7 separate regions of the Homo sapiens genome follow, and regions 1, 2, 4, 5, 6 and 7 are each linked to region 3. The links are contacts of gene promoters, found by promoter capture Hi-C in blood cells and fetal thymus (Javierre and others, 2016). All regions are on one chromosome and are shown on one strand. The core of a region is centred on a gene start or on the middle of the fragment in contact, and the rest is flanking DNA. Distances in the headings are between cores, read along the strand shown. Region 1 overlaps ICA1-AS1 (ICA1 antisense RNA 1). Region 2 overlaps ICA1 (islet cell autoantigen 1). Region 3 holds the start of UMAD1 (UBAP1-MVB12-associated (UMA) domain containing 1). Region 4 overlaps ICA1 (islet cell autoantigen 1). Region 5 overlaps ICA1-AS1 (ICA1 antisense RNA 1). Region 6 overlaps ICA1 (islet cell autoantigen 1). Region 7 overlaps ICA1 (islet cell autoantigen 1).

Region 1 (2,858 bases), core at 337-2,836, 630 kb before region 3:
GGGGAGTTATTAGCACATTTTATATATGAAAAAACTGGCTTAGAGAGGGTAGATGATTATCCCAGCTGTTCCAAACTTGTCTGCATGTTGGAACCACCTGGGGAGCTTCAAAGAGTACTCATGTCTGTGTGGCAGCCCTAAAGATTGAGATTTAGTTGGTCTGGGTGTGGCCTAAGTTTTGGGATTTTTAAAAGATACCCTTTGATTCTAATGTGCGGAGAGTTGGGGAAAAACTAGACTAGCCTCCAATCACCTAGATGGTAGTGAATGAAACTGGAGTTCAGGTGTTTTGACATCAAATTAATACTCATAGAATTATATTTGACATAAAGCTCAAATATAATAATTATCCTCAACTAATACCCATTGAATTTTACGATAGAGAAGGGTTTTCAGATTCTTCTGGCCATAAGAATCAGCTGAGTTAGTTGTCAAAAATGTAGAATCTCAGGTCCCTCTACCAAAGTTTTCTATTTGGAATTGCATGTTCCCAGCCATAAATGGGTGCTAAAATTGTGTACACATAGACATAGTGGAATGATAGGCAATGAACACTGGGAAGGGTGAGAGGGTGGAAAGGGGGCAGATGATGAGAAATTAATTAATGGGCACGTTATTCTGGTCATGGGTACCCTAAAAACCCTGACTTGACTACTACACAATCCATGAATGTAACAAAATGGCACATGTACCCCATAAATTGTACAAAAAAAAAATCTGATTTCGAAGGAGCCTGGTGAGTGTACATATTTCACAAGTGTTTACCTGATTTGGGGGATAAAGTAAATTTGGAAAATCTATAATAGAGAATATCAGACCATGTAGTATTATAAAATAGTAGTATTGAGTATCAAAGTTTGGTTTGAAAAATGGCTAAGAATTAATGGAGAGACTTTATCAAAACACAGCCAAGAGAATTAACACCCCACCCTCAGAGGGTCTAGTTGTATACAAACTATTCACTCATCCATTAATTCAACACACTTTGATTAAACACCTAACATTGTACATTCAAGGCACTATGGTGGATGTGTAAGGGAACACACAAGCTGGGCAGAGTCTTTGCCTTCAAAGACCTAATTGCCTAAGTATATCTCTTGTGGGAGAATGCATAATGTTTGAGCTGGGTCATGGTTATAGGTCCAATGGCTCTTGTTTTTCTAAGTGAGAAAGATTTCATTTAAGCTTGCTTCAGCAAGCATTTATTCAGAGCTCTAGTAACTGTTTGGGACATACAGATAAAGTTGCAGTAGTAATGGTGGAAGTGGAAAAGGGAGGGCCAGGGGTTTCTTGGGGACTCCAACCTGGAGTTGAAGGACACACTACAAGTTTGGCGTTGGCAATAGGAGACAGTGATTGTTCTTGGTAAATATATGTCCAGGAAAAGGAGGAGGCTGAATGTGGGGGGTGGTGACCAGGAGAGGACATGCATAAATTAGTATTAGAAGGTGAGAGGTGAATAAAGAAAATTAGGACTGATAAAGGCTTCGAATGTTTAGATTAGGTATTGGATTTTGAGGTAACCCGTTGAAAATTTTATAGTTGGGACTGAAGCCAATCAAAATATTATGTAATTAGCTTCATACTTAAAGAGTAACTCAAAGACCTGAGTTGTCTTCTATTACTTGACATATCATCTCCCATCCCACCACAACCCACACACACATTCGATTCTTAGCATAAAGTAGTCACAAAAAGTATGCAAATTATGTATTTTGTGATTACCTAAGCTGATTTTGTATTGGTTAAAATACACAATCCTAGGTGGAAGATGTTTTTAAATTCCAGGTAAGAAGCAGGGTTAGAAAGGCAATGGAAATAAGAATGAGAAAAATGGATATGACAGCTGAGAGACACTATAAAGGAAACTGCAATTTCCTGTAGTGAATCATAGACTTGTAATGAACCAGAATTTAGCAACCAATTGAGCACATAAGGTAAACTACTAGGAAGGAATTCAAAATAACATTGAGGTTTTTAAGCTTGCCGAGATAAGAAGAAAGAGCTCTGAGAGAAAAAATACTTTTCGGTCACATCAAGTTTGAGATAATAAATGCTTACTGAATGAATGATAAGCCATCCTACTACTCTGGGAATAAAATAGAAAACCCTAGTTATACAGATATAAAAAAATCAGTTCATGCTCCTCCCTTCCCATCCACATCTGTACAACCTTAGGCCGCCAAAGAGGTGATGAGACTCCTAGAGCCACTTCTAGCCTTTTCAAATTCCAGTGTCTTGCTGCAGGTCTCCTATATCAGCTCAAGGATGTCACCAAGGAATAAAGTCACTTGAAATATGAGAAATATAAGAATAAGCCAGTGTAAGGGTCTCTCCATCAGGGAGTGTCCAAGATTTACCTAAGCAAGTCATATTTGTCATGGCAGCGGCAGCAAGAGGGGAGGAAGTCATGGACTTTCAGCACTAGAAGACTTTTAGCACTAGACTAATCTCAAAGGTTATTAGAAGGTCATTAGAAGAATTGAATATTACACAGTAAGGAATTTCAGACGTCATCTAAACTAGTATTTCCCAACATTTTCAAATGTGAGGATCTCTTTTATTTTGTTCTGGTGTCAAAATTTAAATCTTTATTTTTGTCAATTACAAAATACTATATGTGCACTTTAAAAATTCAAACACTACCAAAGAGTATAAGTGAAAATACAACTTTCCCCCACCTCCAATGTCAGCCAAAAAAAGATCACTCTGCAGAGATAGCTTCAGTTAACATTTTAGTGAATATCATTACAAGATTTTAATGTTACATAGAAAATATTTGCATAAACAAAATCATATTTCACACTGTGTTATACAAGCTGCTATTTTCACTTGAAAAAAAAATCTTGACCTCATCC
Region 2 (2,879 bases), core at 318-2,817, 560 kb before region 3:
CTTCCTTATCCTTAGTGTATTTTAGGTTTTAGGCAAAACCTATTAGATTCATTGTGGACTTAATTGTCCCTCCTTTCTCCCTGGCATGTCCCCATTTTCCCCACTGTTCTGCAATGTCAGCTAATAAATGGTGCAAGTAAAGTTGACATTAAGGAGATGACAATAGGAAAGAGTATTTTGAAAATATAATGAAGATTTGATGAACTTTCTTACGATTTAATCCAGAAAATAAGAAAAACGTACTTTAAAAGAACGTTAAACATGAGTTGTGCAAAAGTCAAAAGACTGCTCATTTTTTGTTTAAAAATATCTTTTTCTTAGTACAAAAGCACAGCAGATATTTAAACTCCACAATGAACAATGTGATAGGTTTATTTATGTAAGAAAATTAACATATTTGAATTTTTTCCCAGCCTAGAGTTTTCCCTAACATTCTGCCTTGTAGATAGATGTAGCAGCTCTTTAAATATGTACATAATGCAGAATATTTTTGATTAAATATTGGTAAAGTTCTCTACAGTTTACAAAGCTGTTTCATATTCATTACTTCGTTAAAACTGCACAAGAGTTTAGCGAGGGTATGAATTCTTTTTCCCATTTCACAGATAAGACCACAGGGCAGCCATGACTGACTTGCCCATAGCCATACGTGTGAACTAGAATTTGAACCCAAGCCTCTGACTCTAGAGTCAGTGCTCTTCTCGGCTTTCCAGCCCCATATTACTACAATCCGATAAACAGATCCTTGTGTGATATTAGGTTACTATTGGAAAAAAAGGTTTCTGGGGTAGAGGAGACCTGGCTTCCTGTTCAAGTAGCAGTCACATCTTCCAGCACATGCCACGTCCTCTGAACTCGTTTTTCTGACCCCAGTGTTTCATGTTCCAAGCACCCTTAAGGAGTATTTGGGCTTTTTTTTTTCCTTCTCACCAATCTCTCTGTCTCTTGAACATCCAGTCACATTTCTGGGTTTGGCGTTTCACATTTCTGTTCTACCTTATTCTGGGAGTCGTTTTTTGAGGTGAAATGGCAGGTCTAGAGCCTGAATTCCTTGGGGTCTGTCTGGCGCCTGAATCCTGCAAGAGTAGGCTCAACTCAGGGACCCAAAGCTGAGGCTCATGGTTGGAAAGTAGACATCACAAAGGCCAGCATCCAGCAAAGGATCCTCTGCAAATTGCCCCACAGGTTTAAAGCCTGTCACTGTTGAAAGGTTTGCGGTCATAAGAGGAAAGTAGCAGAAGCCCTACAGCAAATAGGCACAGAAAATTAACAGGCCCCCTGCAGACATTTCCAGTGAAGAACATCTCAACTCACTCTGAATTAGGGCCTCTCTGGCCTGAGTTGAGTGTAAGAATCCTCTGAGAAGCAAGTTGGATGTGGAGAATCCTGGCTTCTACCTAAGGATTTTGATTCTGGAGGCCTGGGGTGGGGCTCAGAGATCTGACTTTTAATGGGCTCCCAGATAATTCCTTTTCTGGGATCCATAGATCACACCTTGAGAAATACTTTCTCAGAGCACCATCGTGAAATAGCTGATGTTCATGATGATGACTGATCCATCAAAAAAGGCAATTTTGCTCTATTTTAGAAGATAGACATTTAATAAGAGGTATCTGACTTATATGAAGATTTCTTATGTCTTAACTTTTTTTTTAATAGAATATGCTTTACCTACATGGAAAAGTCACTTAAACCACTGGATTTCCCAGGAACTCTACTATATTAAGGCTTAATGTGCTTTTTAGTACTTACATGCATGTTTACCTAAGGCTTAGAGCCTAGAAATTTGTATATCACAGACACTCAAAAATTACTTATTTTGTTTATCTAGAATCAGTACTAACCTTTCTAACGAAATCTCTTCTCCTGCTTCAGCTAAAGCCCCCTTGGTGTTCTCTAGGTTGATACAGAAAACTGAAAGAGCTAGAATGGAGCCCCAGGTTAGTTAATATCTATTATTGAATACTCAGCAGCAAACAATTCTGACAGTTAATGTACCCATGTTAATCACAAGGAATTTGCCAGGAGCACTCTGACACTGTCCTGTCCTGATATGCATGTTAAAATTGCCCACAGGTTCACAAAGGAATCCTCCCCTCTGCATTTTCCCCCATTCGTGCGGTGTGTCTATTGCCTATAGCTGGTTCTTCCTCTTAGGAGTAATCAGCCTAAGACAGAGCAGGCTCACCACCAGGTCCTACAGATGCCTCCATCATTTTACTCTGCAGTTTGTTACAGCTAACATTATTCTTAAGAAATATCTTCCTGGCTTGGAGGTAATTTCTGTGGTGAGTACCAAGATGTTTACTAAGCTGAGAAAAAGTCAAGGGTGATATAAAAACAGTAATTCTCATTCATCCCCAGAATGGCATTTCTGTGCTTGTGGGAATGCACTAGAGGTTCTGAAATCATAAATGAAGAATGTCAGAAATACAGTACTTTGACATTTTTTGACAAAGATGTAGTTAGCCATTCTTGAACAGAATAAAAGAAACTTTGACATTGAATGTAAAGTAGAAGTGATAACAAAATTAGCACATTTAAAAAGTTTATCATGTATCAGCTACAGTTCTAAGCAATTTACATGAATGGGCTCGTTAAAACTCCCCAAGAGGAAGACACTATGATCTCCTTTTCACAGATGAGGATTTTGACGCTTAGAGAGGTTACATAACTGTCTCAATGTGACACAGTCAGAACATGTCAGGGCCAGGTGGAAGGGATTATAATTTGACTCAGACCACATTGACACATGCATCCCCTTATTTTCTGGAACTAAAGCAGTTTCTTCATGAGCAGCATGATGGGGTCTTCTACACTTGTCAGTTGAATAAGGTTAAGAAGCCTCTGTTGTTTCAGTTTAAATGTTGAGTCAATCA
Region 3 (3,244 bases), core at 632-3,131:
TAAGTGACTCAAAAATACACGAAAAAGCTGTTTTAAATTATCTTCCTGCTCATCTCCCTGTTTTAAAAGAAAGCCTTTGCTTAAAAGTGGTCTTTCTAACTGCAGGTAAACAACGACATTAACATCTGGTACTCACAGGAGTGCTCTTTAAAAAAAAAAAAAATCACTATTACAGGGTACGCACCAAGGCTCACACCTGTAATTCCAGTACTTTGGGAGGGAGACGGGGGAGGGAGGGATCGCCTGAGCCCAGGAGTTTGAGATAAGCCTGGTCAACATGGCGAGGCCCCATCTGAACAAAAAAAAACAAACAACAAAAAAAAAATCTTTATTAGCTGGGTGTGGTGGTATGTGCTTATAGTCCCAGCTACTTGGCAGGCTGAGGTGAGAGGATCGCTTAAGCCTACGAGTTAAAGGCTGCAGTGAGCTATGTGCATGCTACTGCACTCCAGTCTGGGTGACAGAGAGAGATCTTGCCTCAAAAAAAAATGCTATTAAAGACATTGATGTGTGTACTCTCCCCTATATAATGCACATCAACTTGCTTTGCAAAACAATGCTAAAGTACAAAAGACTTAAAGCTGTAATATAAAATAGACTTTACTGACTTGCACCAATACAACCACAACTTTTTTATACACCACTGACACACATTCTACATCTGTTTAATGAAATCCTTTAAAGTACCGTTAGTGAGTAAAACTAAGACAAACCTATTAAGTGCTAAGGAAACACTAAGGGAGACTATCATTTAATTATCGTACATGAGATTCCAATCTTAAATTGCCACGTGAAGTCTCAAATCGGATCTTTTTTGCTTAAGGGAATTTGAACGATGACAATTCTGTAGCTTTGGGCCAATTCACAGACTCAGTTTCCACAACGTTATAATACCCAATTAAAACTTCTGTCCAATTTCCACCGTACCGTTTGAAGGTATTTTTATGTGCACTCATTCTAGAATACTCCTGGCAAGGCCGCCGGCTTCGGGTCACAAGATGAGCCAGGGACAGATTGGAGACTACCCCCAAATCTCCCAGGAATCGGTTATCTTCCAGACCTCCAGATCGCCCTCCAGAGTCTCGCAGTGTGGAGGGCAACGACAGAAAGACTGCTGAGGGGGTTTAAACTGTTGAGTCAAACATATGGCCAAAAGTCAGAGTCAACTGGGACCTTGCAAATCATTCCGCCTAACCCTTCGTTTTGCAGATGGGGAAAACACGCCTCAGAAGGGAGAACCCTAGCTCGGGGAACCCTAGCTCGGGGTCTAACAACGATTTAAGCTTGTCTCCCCTAGTACTGGCCAGTGGTTCTTCCCCGTTACCCATCCTTAAGTGCTTCTATTGGCTGCCAACACGGAGGGGTTAGCGGGGTGAAAGAACCGGCGCCTCCGCAGTGTGGCCAGGTTGGGCTAAAAAACGTCTTAGAAGTAATCGGATCAATCTCTCTTCTTACAGGTGGAGAAAGTGGAGAAAGTAGAGTGACGCAGCTAAGGGAGTAAATCGACCCTCAGCCAACAAGTGGCAAAAGCCTGAAGAAAGTGATCAAGATCACTGATGACCCCGCTGCCCATCTCCAAGGGGGCGGGTATCACAACCCCGACGCCACACCACGTATCATTCCGCAAAACTCCCGCGCCTCCCACGCAGAACTGGCAAGAGGGAAGGCGAGACAGCAGTGAACAGCTGGTACGCAGCACCCACAGCACCGCGGCAGCAGCTAGTGCCGACTCCCGCCTAGCTCTTTTGACTCTGTTCGCGGGAAGAATGGGGAAACAGTAAGGTTGCGGCGCCTCCCGCGAGACGAGGTACCTGAGGCTGGCCCCGCAGTCCCCCGCCGCACCAGCACCGGAGCTTCACACCCCACTTCCGGGGTCAAGTCACCGCCGGGAATCCTGTGATCGCAGAAAGGTAGTCTCAGGTTCCGCCCCTATCCAAGTCCCGCCTCCACTGCCTCTCGCCCTGTATCTGTCAACTTCCGGGACGCCGCGCGTCACTAAGCAGCCAATCTCCACTTCCGGACTCATCCAGCCCCTTCTCCACCCCTTTCAGAGACAGCGCGATTGCGATTTAGGTTTCCGCGCATTTAATTGGCGAAGCTGGAGCGCTAGTCTTCGCTGATTGGTGCCGAGAAATCTGCCCCATAGACACCCGCGGGGCGCACAGTTTCAGTCGTCCGTGGGTTTCCCGCCAGCCGCAGTCTTGGACCATAATCATGGTGGACATGATGGACTTGCCCAGGTCGCGCATCAACGCCGGCATGCTAGCTCAATTCATCGACAAGCCTGTCTGCTTCGTAGGGAGGCTGGAAAAGGTGTGCGGGTTCGCAATCATGGGCTCCCAAGTCCGTAGCTGGAGGGAGGGACCCCGCCTGGATAACGGGGGATGAAAAAGGACGGAAAGCCTCCGATCACTGCGCCCCCGACTCCTTTATTTTGCACAAGGAACTTTTTGGAAATTCTTTAGCCGTTGTAGCCCCATTTTGGCGCTCTTTTATGGCACGGAAACAAAGTGTTTTCAAATGCTGAGTTCTAAATTCCAGTGCCCGTCGCCTCCGTTCTAGCCGTGCTTACGTAAGGGAAATTATAAACACCACTCCCACATCTACCTTCAGATTTCTTAGTTTACTCAGACGTGACGGACGCAGACAAAACTAATCTGCTGGTTTCCTTCTCTTCTGAAATTACTTATTTTTGCAAACCTCGTTTCCTCGTTGTGATCGCTTCTCTGTAAAACATGCCTTGGTTGTCCGCTTTGGGTCCCGTAGTAACGAGTTATTTAACCCCAGTATTAAAGTGAAGTTCCCTCATTCTACAGGCGAGAAACAGGCCCAAAGTCTTGGAATCAGTGACCTGAAAAGCTGAGGAAAAGAAAACTATTATATAAAGACTTATTTAGTAGCTCATTTCATCCACACATCCTCTTCCTTAAATGAGTGTTGCTCTGACTTCCCAAGTAGGGAAACTGAGTAGGAGTGGTAGGTGGTTGACTAAAATGCTCAGAAACTCGGCAAATGGCAAAGCTGGCATTCAAACGCAATCTGACAGCGCTCTTTACAGCTGCTTCCCAGGAGTAGGACCCAGATATTCTAGCAACCAGTTCTCCTTTTACTTCATCATGCCTGTTTTTTAAAACATACCCTCCGTGGGATATGTACTGTCTAAATCATGAGTGCCAGCAGATTTCACTTTTAGGGTGGGCATCCTTTAATTTGTTATCAGAATAGGGTTGCCATATTTAGCAAA
Region 4 (3,224 bases), core at 187-2,686, 580 kb before region 3:
TTTAACGGCACATCTGAAAACCTAATTAGCAAGTAAATATAAAAATGTTTTTGTCTCTGAATTCTCAAGTCCCAGATAATTGAAACCTTATTAATAGAACATTTTGAGTTATCTTTTTTTGTTTTTGCTTTCTTCTTGTAATAGAGACAGGGGTCTTGCTATGTTGCACAGGCTGGTCTTGAACTCCTAGTATCAAGCAATCCTCCTGCCTCTACCTCCCAAAAGTGCTGGGACTGCAGGTGTGAACCACCACACTCAGCCCTTTTGCGTTACCTGATACCTATGTTATACCTGAATTTTAAACTTCTGTAAGTTAATTTCAGTATTTGAATTTTTAAAATTAAAGAATGACCATCCCTTCTCAGAAAATCTAACCTTGACCCTGATGGAGCTCACACTTCTTTCCACTGCCCTCTGAGTAAGTATTGCCAAGTAATCAGAGTCAGCACCTAAAATGAAACCTGTTTGCTGCCCCAAGTTGATCCACAAGTGCCTAAAATGACCGAAAATTATTTTTAAATGTTTCAGCCTACTTAGGTTTATTTAGGAAAGAGTACATTTTGTCAACCATGTAATTATTCAGGTACCACAAATTGGTTTCTTCCTAGCCTTAAGCTAAATGCATTCATTTGTATGTGACTTGAGACTTCAAGGTAAAAAGGGTGACAGTAGCCTCACACGATTAAGATCAAAAATGAGACATTGCTTTCCATAGGGAAAGATTCATTGTGGAATTGAGTGAGGCACATATTAATCAGTGGGGAGGAGAAGGAATGGAATGTATTAAAAAACAAAAAACCTTCTTATAATTATAGGAATTTTAAAAAGCTACATAGAACCATGGCGTGAGTATTAAAAGGCAATAAGTATTTCAACTGAAATAAAGTGTATGAGGATAACAAGGCAAAATTGTAGTCAATTCAATTCACAAGCATTTAATTAGCACCGTGAATTTAAGACTTTATGCTCAGCCTGGGGAATACAAAGTTTGGGTGAGATCCCTGTCTTGGAAAGCTTAGAGCCCCCTGGGGAAGAGAGACACATGCCCAGTCACACAAGGTGAGTGCTAAGTCAGGTGCCCAGAGAGCACTGCTGTCCGGAGAAATAGGGATCAATTGCTTCACAGAGAAAGGAACCTGCGAGCAGGCCTTTGATGGTGAACTTGATTTTTGAGAGACAGAAGAGAAGCAGGGTCATCATTTATCTCTCAGGAAAAATGGATTCTAAAAGCCTCTTCTTGACTGGGCCTTCCCAAGGGAATGTTTAGGGTGAAACTATAGTCACAAATTAATAAGGTAGCAGTATCGAGTTTAGCCTTCACCTTTGGATTTGTGGTTCCTGCCTAATGTCCTACAATTATTGTTAGTGAGATTATGTCAGGAATGGGGGTGCATTCTTAAAGAAAAGTGACTGGTTTGTGAAAGCTGACAAGAATCCTAGTAGCATTTAGAAAGCAGTTTTAGAGACACAGGGTATGTAAATACATCAATACAGAAATAGGAAATAAAAGTAGTGTTCAAAGTATGTTGATAGTAAATGCTGTGTTTAGGGGGAAAGCACATCCGAGGAAGCTAAGTGTCACTCTGGTGCCTGTGGCTTGGCTGCTGGTGTGTGTTCAGGACCCCCACTGTACCATTATGTGGGTATGCTGTATTTTATTAAACTAGTTCCTAGTATAAGGAGAGTGTTTCACTATTATAAATAATGATGCTATGATTGTTTTTGCATTTACATCTTTGTGCCCATTTTGCTACTTCCTTAGGAAGTTCTCCTAACAGTAGACATGGAGAGTCCAAAGATACATGTAATTCTATGATTTTTTAAATGTTTACCGTCAAATCAGTCTGCAGAAAGCTTGCACCAAATCACTTACCCACCAATAATACCATCTGAGGTTGTCTTTAAAAATAAGGCCAAGATTAGGCATCACCAATTCAGATTTGGTTCCAGCTCTGTATTTTTAAAACCCACTGTCATCAACCTGATGACCTCCCCACCCTCCGTCCCTACCCCCACTTCCAACCAAAAACCTGTGTCACAGCTGAGGTATTTGAATTGCTTTACAATGGAATAGAATGTAACTCAAAAAGCAGAGATCAAAAGTCAGCAGGAGAGAATAATGAGAGGCAGCTAGCACTGCATCCTAGGCAGCCACAAAAGATTCCCACAGTCATACTTGACAAACCCAACTCCTTTATTTCAGCTCGAAGCCGCACACTATGGGCTTACGTTTCAGTACAGAGGTCATTTTCTAGTTCTGATTACAGGGCACCAAACTCACTGACAGATGTATTCAAGTGAATTTGATCTCTCGTATTGTAAATGGAAGAACAGCCTGAAAGTTAAATGGGGGGTAGGGGGAGCTTACCCTGTAGCCTGCCGCTTAGATTTAATTTCATCTCGTCTTCGCCTCTGGAAGAGAGAGGACCTTGTGATTTGTCTTTCTTGTTCCCTTTGCAATCAAAATGCTCATTGTTCATGGCTCCTTTTGGTCTTTTCTTCATCAGTCTTGTCTCAAGAAGAAAACGAACTGGGAAAATTTCTTCGATCCCAAGGTTTCCAAGATAAAACCAGAGCAGGAAAGATGATGCAAGCGACAGGAAAGGCCCTCTGCTTTTCTTCCCAGCAAAGGTGTGTGGCCTTTAGTGGGGTTCTATCTGGGGGGATCTGAGGAGACTCCGGGACCCACCTACTCACGAAAGGGAATCTCACAGTGTTCTTTAGAAGGATTTTGCCTGAGGCTGAGGAGCTGCTCTGTACTCACTAGTTAGGCAGTTTGTACTTAACTCTCTAATTAAGATTAACACATAGGATTTTTTTTTCCTCCCTATTAATTAAAAAAAATTTTTTTTCATTTTTCTGTTGGTCTGTAGGGGCATTATATATGTCAATCACTATGAGTGCTGTCCTAGGCTTATGTTTGACCTTCAGTGTTGCTTGTAGCAATCAGTCTGGTCCCCTTCCAGCAGCTGATTAAAGCAGGAGCCTAATGAGACCAGGTTGAAGGGTTCCCTCTCTGCTCTCTGTGGACCAATTAACTTCAGAGAGGTGCTGTTCTCATGCCCAGGTCCACACTGCTCAGACCCTGGACCATAACCCGGGAGTGTGTTAGAAATGCAGAATGTAGGCCCTACCCCAGACATGCAGGATCCACATCCACATTTTAACTAGACCGCTGTTGTTTTGATGTAAATTCAAGTTTGCGAAGCTCTGGTACAGGGAAA
Region 5 (2,949 bases), core at 65-2,564, 660 kb before region 3:
CTGCCCAAGGTAATTTACAGATTCAATGCCATCCCCATCAAGCTACCTATGCCTTTCTTCACAGAATTGGAAAAAACTACTTTAAAGTTTATATGGAACCAAAAAAGAGCCCGCATCACCAAGTCAATCCTAAGCCAAAAGAACAAAGCTGGAGGCATCACACTACCCGACTTCAAACTATACTACAAGGCTACAGTAACCAAAACAGCATGGTACTGGTACCAAAACAGAGATATAGATCAATGGAACAGAACAGAGCCCTCAGAAGTAACGCCGCATATCTACAACTATCTGATCTTTGACAAACCTGAGAAAAACAAGCAATGGGGAAAGGATTCCCTATTTAATAAATGGTGCTGGGAAAACTGGCTAGCCATATGTAGAAAGCTGAAACTGGATCCCTTCCTTACACCTTATACAAAAATCAATTCAAGATGGATTAAAGACTTAAATGTTAGACCTAAAACCATAAAAACCCTAGAAGAAAACCTAGGCATTACCATTCAGGACATAGGCATGGGCAAGGACTTCATGTCTAAAACACCAAAAGCAATGGCAACCAAAGCCAAAATTGACAAATGGGATCTAATTAAACTAAAGAGCTTCTGCACAGCAAAAGAAACTACCATCAGAGTGAACAGGCAACCTACAAAATGGGAGAAAATTTTCGCAACCTACTCATCTGACAAAGGGCTAATATCCAGAATCTACAGTGAACCCAAATTTACAAGAAAAAAACAAACAACCCCATCAAAAAGTGGGCAAAGGACATGAACAGACACTTCTCAAAAGAAGACATTTATGCAGCCAAAAAACACATGAAAAAATGCTCACCATCACTGGCCATCAGAAAAATGCAAATCAAAACCACAATGAGATACCATCTCATACCAGTTAGAATGGCAATCATTAAAAAGTCAGGAAACAACAGGTGCTGGAGAGGATGTGGAGAAATATGAACAACTTTTACACTGTTGGTGGGACTGTAAACTAGTTCAACCATTGTGGAAGTCAGTGTGGCGATTCCTCATGGATCTAGAACTAGAAATACCTTTTGACCCAGCCATCCCATTACTGGGTATATACCCAAAGGACTATAAATCATGCTGCTATAAAGACACATGCACATGTATGTTTACTGCGGCATTATTCACAATAGCAAAGACTTGGAACCAACCCAAATGTCCAACAATGATAGACTGGATTAAGAAAATGTGGCACATATATACCATGGAATACTATGCAGCCATAAAAAATGATGAGTTCATGTCCTTTGTAGGGACATGGATGAAATTGGAAACCATCATTCTCAGTAAACTATCGCAAGAACAAAAAACCAAACACCGCATATTCTCACTCATAGGTGGGAATTGAACAATGAGATCACATGGACACAGGAAGGGGAACATCACACTCTGGGGACTGTTGTGGGGTTGGGGGAGGGGGGAGGGATAGCATTGGGAGATATACCTAATGCTAGATGACGAGTTAGTGGGTGCAGCGCACCAGCATGGCACATGTATACATATGTAACTAACCTGCACAATGTGCACATGTACCCTAAAACTTAAAGTATAATAATAAAAATAAATAAATAAATAAAATAAAAAAAAAGGAAAAAAAAATTAAGAAAATTTATCTTCACTGACTCAATGTACAAATAAATAAATGATAGCAAGGCCAACTGCAGCTCTAAATAGTAGAGAATATAAATGATTCAAGCATAAAATGGTCAGAGTTCCCTGAATAAATATTTTCCTACAGTCATGTATAAATAATTCTGATTTCTGTCTGAACCACCTGTCTGCGTTCCTAGGGAAACTAAAGTGAATACATGCCTGTCTGTGACTCTACTCCCTGTATCAAAAGCCAAAGTGGACACAGCTACAGAGGGGAGAGAGGTTGTCTCCACATTCTGTTGTTGGATCACTCTCTTATTCACAATCGTCCCAGAAGCCATAGACAATAAAGGAAGGAGGAGCTGATGCAAAGGAATTGGATAGGGAGGTTCTCACCCTTCCATGTGTGCGGATAGTTTGGGTGTGTTGTAAAGACTCCAGACCACGCTCCAGACCATCTAAAGTTCCGGCTTCCATTTCTAACTGCCCTTACTAGAGCCTTAGGAAAAGCATTTAAATGCACTGCGACTTGGGTTGCTTCTCTTACATAGTAAGGAAAGAACCAGGAACAGACAAGATAATAATGATGATAATTTTTTTTTTTTTTTGAGACGGAGTCTCACTCTTTCGCCCAGTCTGGAGTGAGTGGCACAATCTCTACTCATTGCAACCTCTGCCTCCCAGGTTCAAGCAATTCTCTTGGCTCAGCCTGCTAAGTAGCTGAGATTACAGGTGTGTGCCACCACGCCCGGCTAATTTTTGTATTTTTATTTATTTATTTATTTACTTTTAACAGAGATGGGGTTTCACCATGTTGGCCAGGCTGGTCTCAAACTCCTGACCTCAGGTGGCTGCCTGCCTCGGCCTCCCAAAGTGCTGGGATTGCAGGCGTGAGCCACCACACCCGGCCAATGATGATACTTTTAAATAGTATTGAAAAAAAGAGAATTAAAGCACCATGGTGGAGACCGAGACTGGGAATGGTGAGAATTCTGAGTTAACCATTTTGGAGAAGGATTAAACTGGAGGTGCCGGTCACTCTGCACTAAAGGAAATATTAAGATTCTACACATCACAAATTGAGAATTTAAATGTGAGAGGGAAATAGTATGCATTTCATAAAAGTACACTTGCTTATGTATTCATTTATGTATAAAAAATTAGAGTTGTGGGAGACAAGAGAACTAGGATTCAGAAAGCAGGGGTAAGGACCTCACCACCATCAAAGGGAAACCAAGAAATTATGACAAACAAAATGAAGATTGAGATTTACCCTGCCTCTGTCTATATTTACAAAAAGGGAGCTCAAATCCCAGCTGATGTGTTGTCA
Region 6 (3,043 bases), core at 61-2,560, 550 kb before region 3:
ACTCTCAAAGTATCTTATTTATTTTGGTTCTATGAAAGCAGTTTGATAATTATAACTGGAAAATCTTTTCTTTTCATATAAATAACAAAACACCCCAAGAAAACATTATCTAAGAGTTTTTCCAATCCCCATTCCATTATGTTCCCTTAGGATGCCTTTAGCGTAAGAAACAGCCTGGTGCCTTGGTGAGGAACTCAGTCTCTGCAGTGAGCATCTCCTGGGTTCAAACTGTGGCTTCCCCACTTCGTAGCAGTATAATCTCAGGCAGGTTTCTTAACTTCTGAATATTTCAGTGTCTTCATCTGAAAAATGGAGACACAGTCAAGTACCATATAATGACATTTTATGATGGTGGTCCCATAAGATAACAATGGGGCTGACAATTCCTATTGCCTAGTGACATCTTGATGATACTAAATCTGTGCAAATCTGGGCTAATGTGTGTCTTAGTTTTTAACAAAGAAGTTTAAAAAGTGAAAAAAGTTAAAGATAGAAAAAAGCTTATAGAATAAGGATATAAAGAAATCTTTTGTACAGTTGTACAATGTGTTTGTGCTTTATGACAAGAATTATTACAGAAGAGTCAAAAAATTTAAAAATGTTTAAAGATGTTTATAAAGTAAAAAAGTTACAGTAAGCTAAGGTTAATTTATTATCAAAGAAAGAAAAACATTTGTTATAAATTTAGTGTAGTCTAAGTGTAGTGCTTATGCAGTCTAAAGTAGTGTACAGTAATGTCCTGGGCCTTCACATTCACTCACCACTCTCACTCACCCAGAACAACTTCCAGGCCTGCAAGCTCCATTTGTGGGAAGTGCCCTACACAGGTTTATCATTTTTATCTTTTATGCCATATTTTTACTGTGCCTTTTCTATGTTTAGATATGTTCAGATACACAAACACTTATCATTGTGTTACAATTGCCTACAGTATTCAGTACAATAACATGTTGTACAGGTTTGCAGCCTAAGAGAAATAGGCCATCTCATGTGTAATATAATGCTTTGTAATATAATATATACTTTGTAAAAAAGTATAGGTGTGTAATAGGTGCTATATCGTCTAGGTTTATTTAAGTACACTGTATGATGTGTGAACAAGGACAAAATCACCTAACAACATGTTTCTGAGAACATGTCCCCATCGTTAAGTGACACATAAGTGTAATCACGTCAAGCTCATAAGATTCTAATGAGGATTAAATCTGTAATATTTGTCAAGTTCTTAGAACTGAGTGTGGTCCATATTAAGCACAACATAAACATTCTTGTTGCCCAATTTTAAGTGTTTGATATATAAAATAAATGCAAAACAAGATAATAGCCTGTGTGCTATACTGAGATATTGAATAGCTTATCTTTTGAGAAATGGAGACAACATTACTGGAATAAGAATACAACTCTAACTAGTTTTCATATTTCCCCTTCTCAGTGGCACGTTGAGGCCCTGTCACTTATATGTAATGGAACCCATCAAATTGAGTACATTATGCATGAAAGTACACTTGTGATATCTTACCCTGATCTGCCCCTTTTCCTGCCCTCCTTGTTTTTGTTGACCTCAGCTTGAAATCTTAACTTTAGATTCAGCTTCACTTTCTTCTTTTCTGACCCATTTATTTGGTTTCAAAATCTCATCATTTCTTCCCTGGAAATCTCTCTGTCATCCATCCCCTGTCTCCATTTGTATAGCAGCCTACACAGAGCTGCCAACCTCATCTTCCTGAAAAACCACTCTACTGTGGCCACTTCCCTGCTCAGGACCTTCAGCAGCTCCCCATTGCTTAACAAGCAAAGCCCTCAGCCTGTCGTTCAGAACCACACAAACCCAGCCCACTCTCCTTCCCTAGGTCCAATACTGTATTCCCAACAGCCTATTCTCCACAGTGACCAGATGATTGCTGTGTCTGGCATGGTCCACATTTATGTTTGTTGTCCAGGCTTCACTATTAATGATGCCCTCTTCACTCAGAGAGCGTCCCTGTTTGGACAATAAATTGTATGGCCACCCTGCTGTTATCCCATTAGCCAAACCATGTATCCCAGGATTCCCTGTCTCCTCCCCCTGTTCCTTTCATCTGAATTGCTGTCGCTTGATCTGTGCCTATCCACAAGCTTCCCCTTTTTCAAAGGCCCATTCAAATGTTACTTCCTCCACTCTTTCAAAACTCTCCCAGGGTTCTTTATACAACCACTCTTTTGCCACCTAACACTTCCTAATGTGTATCATGATTATTTATATGCTGTATAGCTCCTCTTTCAGAATACGACCCTTGAAGAAAGAAACTGTGTCTGATTAACAAAGTGTTTCCTGTAGCATCTAACCCAGGCTCCTACATGCCTGGAAAAATAACAGACATCAGTTCTTGAGTGCTTACTATGCACCAAGCACTGTATGTATAATCAATATACACTTTAGATACCATCTGTATATATTATCTCATTTAATCCTAACAATAGCTTTGAAATACTGTGTCTCTGTTTACTAATTTGGAAATTAAGGCTTGGATCAAATGACCTTGTTCTAGATCACAGAAGCAGTAAGCCTAAATAGAAACATTCGAGCCCAAATTTCTCTGACTTCAAAGAGCATGCTCTTAACCTTTTCACTCCAGGCAGATGGTTCTTAAGATTAAGTATGCAGCAGGGTCTTCTGGAGGGCTTGGTAAAATGTATTGATGTGCCCCATCCCAGTTTCTGATTCCGTAGGCCCAAGTTAGGGCCCAAGAATTACATTTCTATCAAGCTCCCAGGTGATGCTGATGTTGCTGGTCCAGACAGTACACTGAGCGTAAGTAAGCATAATCATTCGTTGATGAATAAATGGATTGGTGGGTGGGTGGATGGATGGATGGATGGATGTGGATGGCCAGATGCATGGATGGGTGAATGGATGGTTGGATGAATATATTTAAATTTATCACTTGGTTTAAAGTTTCATAAGTCTGCTCTAATTTTGTACATTAGGTACATTGATGTGTTCACTTATAATTCTTACAAGGTCAGGATTAAAATTTACTTTTATTTTTCACAGCCATCTTTA
Region 7 (2,849 bases), core at 8-2,507, 610 kb before region 3:
TTTTGATTTGTTTGATGCCTTAGACTGAGGCTCTCCAACAAAAATATAACAGCAGCCACATATATAATTTAAAACATTCTAGTAGTAAAATATTTTTGGCTTAAAAACTAAAAAGAAATAAGGTGGGGGCTGTGGCGTGTGCCATGCTTATAATTCCAGCTACTCAGGAGGCTGAGGTGGGAGGATTGTTTGAGCCTAGGAGTTCAAGACCAGCCTGGGCAACACAGTAAGACCCTGTCTCAAAACAAACAAAAACTAAAAAGAAACAGCTTAAATTAAATTGATAATTTATTTGATCTAACCCAAAATATTCAAAATATTGTTTCAACGTAAAATATAAAAAAGTAATAAATAAGCAAAAAATATAATTAAATATAAAGCAGAATATATAATATACATATGTAAATATGTAATATATAAATGTAGTTATATAAAATTTAGATATATACAATATATCAACATGAAATAATTTTTATAACTATAAATACATGGATTTATTAATGAGACATTTTAATTTTTTGTTACTAAGTCTTCAAAATCCAGTGTGAATTTTACATTTAGAGCTCATCTGAATTCATACCAGCCGTATCTCAAGTGCTCATATTACATGTGGCTAGTGTCTGCTATATTGGACTGCATAGTCTTAGATGATAAAGTCAATTTATCTGAGGTTATTCTTCCATAAAAAGAAAATTTAAGTTGGTGCAATTCTTTAAAGTAAGATTTGTAAGAGCCTTCCAAGTTTTATAATTTGATCCCAATAAAATATAAGGATAACATTTAGACCTATGATTTAATAATGTTCTGTGCTGACATCGAAGGGCGTAGTATTCCTTCACAGAACTTGATCGAGACTTTTATCTGATTAGGGTGTTCCTTCATTCTTCAGCTTTTGAAATTAAGCTTTTAGAGAAAACACCACCATAAATACAGAGTAAAATCTGTATGTGAAATTTGATTTGATATTTGAAATTTATGTAAACCAAACTAAATAAAATCAAAGGTGAATATAATTTATACTGCAAACTTTTAAAATTACTTTTTTCTTTAGCAGAGGTAACCCATTTGTTCTGTTTCTAGTGTTGTTTTACACTTTATATTTTTATCTTTCTAGATTTCTTTTAGGTTTGTGGTTTGCAAATACCTACCTCTTTGTTATTACTGCCATGATTTTTGGTGTAGCACAAAATTCACCATCGATCATCCTTTGAAAGGAGGGCTTTAAGCAAAAGAAAGAGGAGCAAGACCTAGACCACACTTTTTGTGAGCAGTTTGAGTTTTCTGGTTTGTTTTTAATTTGTTTTACATGGATATAATATTTAAAAATTTTACAATAATATTAATGCTGAAGATGACATTTTAGAAAGTAGCTTGGCAATTTTATTTTGGTTTCTGTTATATTTGATATTTTCCTTTCAGAAACATCTCTTGGAATAGATGAAGAGACAGAGGAGAGCACCAAATTGTTAACTGGCTGATGAATGTTTCATTCCCAGCATTCCTCTATGTGAACTTGACCTTTAACCTGATCTTGGACAAGTCATCTCTATTTTTAGAACCCCAATTTTTTAATCATTGAAAAGGATGTTGTGTTCATTATCTCTAAGCTTTATCTTAGATGTAAATGTCTCTGAAAATAATTTGAGTTTTTTATTTTTGTGACTGGGGGCATCCTAGATGGCCACTTGCCTAGTCTACTGTTTTACAGATGAGCAAAGTGAAGCCAGATCGCTGAAGTGATGACTAAGTGTGTGACATAGTCATGGATTTACCAGCTTTTATTTATATCAAGGAGCATATTGGGAAACCTTCAAAATACATACTTTAGGAATGTGATTTTAATAGTTTTAGGGAGTCATTAAACTTAATCATTGTATATAACTTAATCATTGTATATAACACCTGAGTTCTTTTGAAATGTAAATAAAACAATCATTTAAAAATATCTGGCTGGGCACAGTGGCTCATGCCTGTAATCCTGGCACTTGGGGAGTCCAAAGCTGGTGGATCACTTGAGCTCAGGAGTTTGAGACTAGCATTGGGAGGCATTTTACTAAAAATAAAAAAATTAGCTGGGCCTATTGGCAAGTGCCTGTAGTCCCAGCTACTGAAGAGGCTGAGGTGGGGGGGATCACTTGAGCCCAGGAGGTCAAGGCTGCATGAGCTGTAATGTCACAATTGCACTCCAGCCTGGGCAACTGAGCAAGATCCTGTCTCAAAAAAAAAATTTCTTTAATAAAAGAAAATATCCTAAGACTTTAGTTCATTAACAGAAAACACAGATTTTAACAGTGGCTTGCATCTGTAGTGTTAAAATAAAAACTCACCTTTTAGCTACCATGAATAAGATCACAATTCTGTTTTCCTCTTGGTGATATTTGCTGACTCACAAAATTAAAACATGATCCCATTTCACATTTACTTGTGAATTTATGAAATATCAAAAATCATTGCAGAAGGCACAAAACTGGAAACAGGATCCATTTAAAGTTGTGTAGTCACTCAATCACCCAGGCTGGAGTGCAGTGAGGGGATCAGAGCTCACTGTAGCCTTGTGTGCAGTTGTGTGGAATGCTCAGGTAATCGTGTCCACGTCAAAAATCCAAAAGGACAAGCTGTATGATATCTCAGAGGTAGGAAAAACACCCATTAAAAACTCATCAAAATCGTGTTACTTTAATTAATACCTAGCTTTTGAAAAGATGGAAGGCTAATTGAACTTCCCATCCTCCATGGGAATGCCCATTTCTCAACCACTTGAGAACAGGATTTGATGAATCAGGATTTTAAAAATAATAATTAATATGGTTAATTATGCCTGGAGGAATTGTTCCAGTTTTTTTCACTGC

What was found. Contacts are between HindIII fragments. The CHiCAGO score rates a contact against its expected background, and 5 or more counts as called.
Region 1: a fragment that was not itself captured here is called in contact with the fragment with the promoter of UMAD1 in region 3 in 1 of 17 cell types (erythroblasts); the score reaches 6.1 in erythroblasts.
Region 2: a fragment that was not itself captured here is called in contact with the fragment with the promoter of UMAD1 in region 3 in 10 of 17 cell types (M2 macrophages, M0 macrophages, fetal thymus and 7 more); the score reaches 8.8 in M2 macrophages.
Region 4: a contact is called between a fragment that was not itself captured here and the fragment with the promoter of UMAD1 in region 3, in 10 of 17 cell types (fetal thymus, erythroblasts, non-activated CD4 T cells and 7 more). The highest score is 13.8, in fetal thymus.
Region 5: a contact is called between a fragment that was not itself captured here and the fragment with the promoter of UMAD1 in region 3, in 3 of 17 cell types (fetal thymus, erythroblasts and megakaryocytes). The highest score is 11.8, in fetal thymus.
Region 6: a contact is called between a fragment that was not itself captured here and the fragment with the promoter of UMAD1 in region 3, in 14 of 17 cell types (total B cells, naive CD8 T cells, naive B cells and 11 more). The highest score is 10.1, in total B cells.
Region 7: a fragment that was not itself captured here is called in contact with the fragment with the promoter of UMAD1 in region 3 in 2 of 17 cell types (M0 macrophages and erythroblasts); the score reaches 9.5 in M0 macrophages.

Annotation. Positions count from the first base shown.
Region 1 is chr7:8,273,856-8,276,713 of GRCh38, reverse strand. All of the region lies in intron 3 of ICA1-AS1 (ICA1 antisense RNA 1), which reads right to left. Among named protein-coding and RNA genes, the nearest start is that of ICA1-AS1, 13 kb to the right of the region's middle. The HindIII fragment of the contact is 797 bases long and covers 1,188-1,984 here.
Region 2 is chr7:8,202,111-8,204,989 of GRCh38, reverse strand. All of the region lies in intron 6 of ICA1 (islet cell autoantigen 1), which reads left to right. Among named protein-coding and RNA genes, the nearest start is that of ICA1, 59 kb to the left of the region's middle. The HindIII fragment of the contact is 3,510 bases long and covers 1-2,879 here.
Region 3 is chr7:7,639,389-7,642,632 of GRCh38, reverse strand. UMAD1 (UBAP1-MVB12-associated (UMA) domain containing 1) reads right to left here and starts at 1,881. Exons shown (of 4, transcript NM_001302348.2): 1 at 1,812-1,881. It overlaps RPA3 (replication protein A3), which reads left to right. Exons shown (of 8, transcript NM_002947.5): 5 at 1,458-2,313. The coding sequence starts at 2,215. RefSeq lists enhancers at 1,421-1,590, 1,671-1,720, 1,761-1,960, 2,231-2,280, 2,651-2,700 and a silencer at 2,061-2,190. The HindIII fragment of the contact is 10,351 bases long and covers 1,286-3,244 here.
Region 4 is chr7:8,220,682-8,223,905 of GRCh38, reverse strand. It overlaps ICA1 (islet cell autoantigen 1), which reads left to right. Exons shown (of 14, transcript NM_001136020.3): 5 at 2,508-2,631. Among named protein-coding and RNA genes, the nearest start is that of ICA1, 40 kb to the left of the region's middle. RefSeq lists an enhancer at 1,858-2,414. The HindIII fragment of the contact is 840 bases long and covers 1,017-1,856 here.
Region 5 is chr7:8,296,756-8,299,704 of GRCh38, reverse strand. All of the region lies in intron 3 of ICA1-AS1 (ICA1 antisense RNA 1), which reads right to left. Among named protein-coding and RNA genes, the nearest start is that of ICA1-AS1, 36 kb to the right of the region's middle. The HindIII fragment of the contact is 4,184 bases long and covers 1-2,949 here.
Region 6 is chr7:8,185,194-8,188,236 of GRCh38, reverse strand. The region is part of intron 6 of ICA1 (islet cell autoantigen 1); the gene reads left to right. Among named protein-coding and RNA genes, the nearest start is that of ICA1, 75 kb to the left of the region's middle. The HindIII fragment of the contact is 1,615 bases long and covers 503-2,117 here.
Region 7 is chr7:8,250,287-8,253,135 of GRCh38, reverse strand. The region is part of intron 1 of ICA1 (islet cell autoantigen 1); the gene reads left to right. Among named protein-coding and RNA genes, the nearest start is that of ICA1, 10 kb to the left of the region's middle. The HindIII fragment of the contact is 704 bases long and covers 906-1,609 here.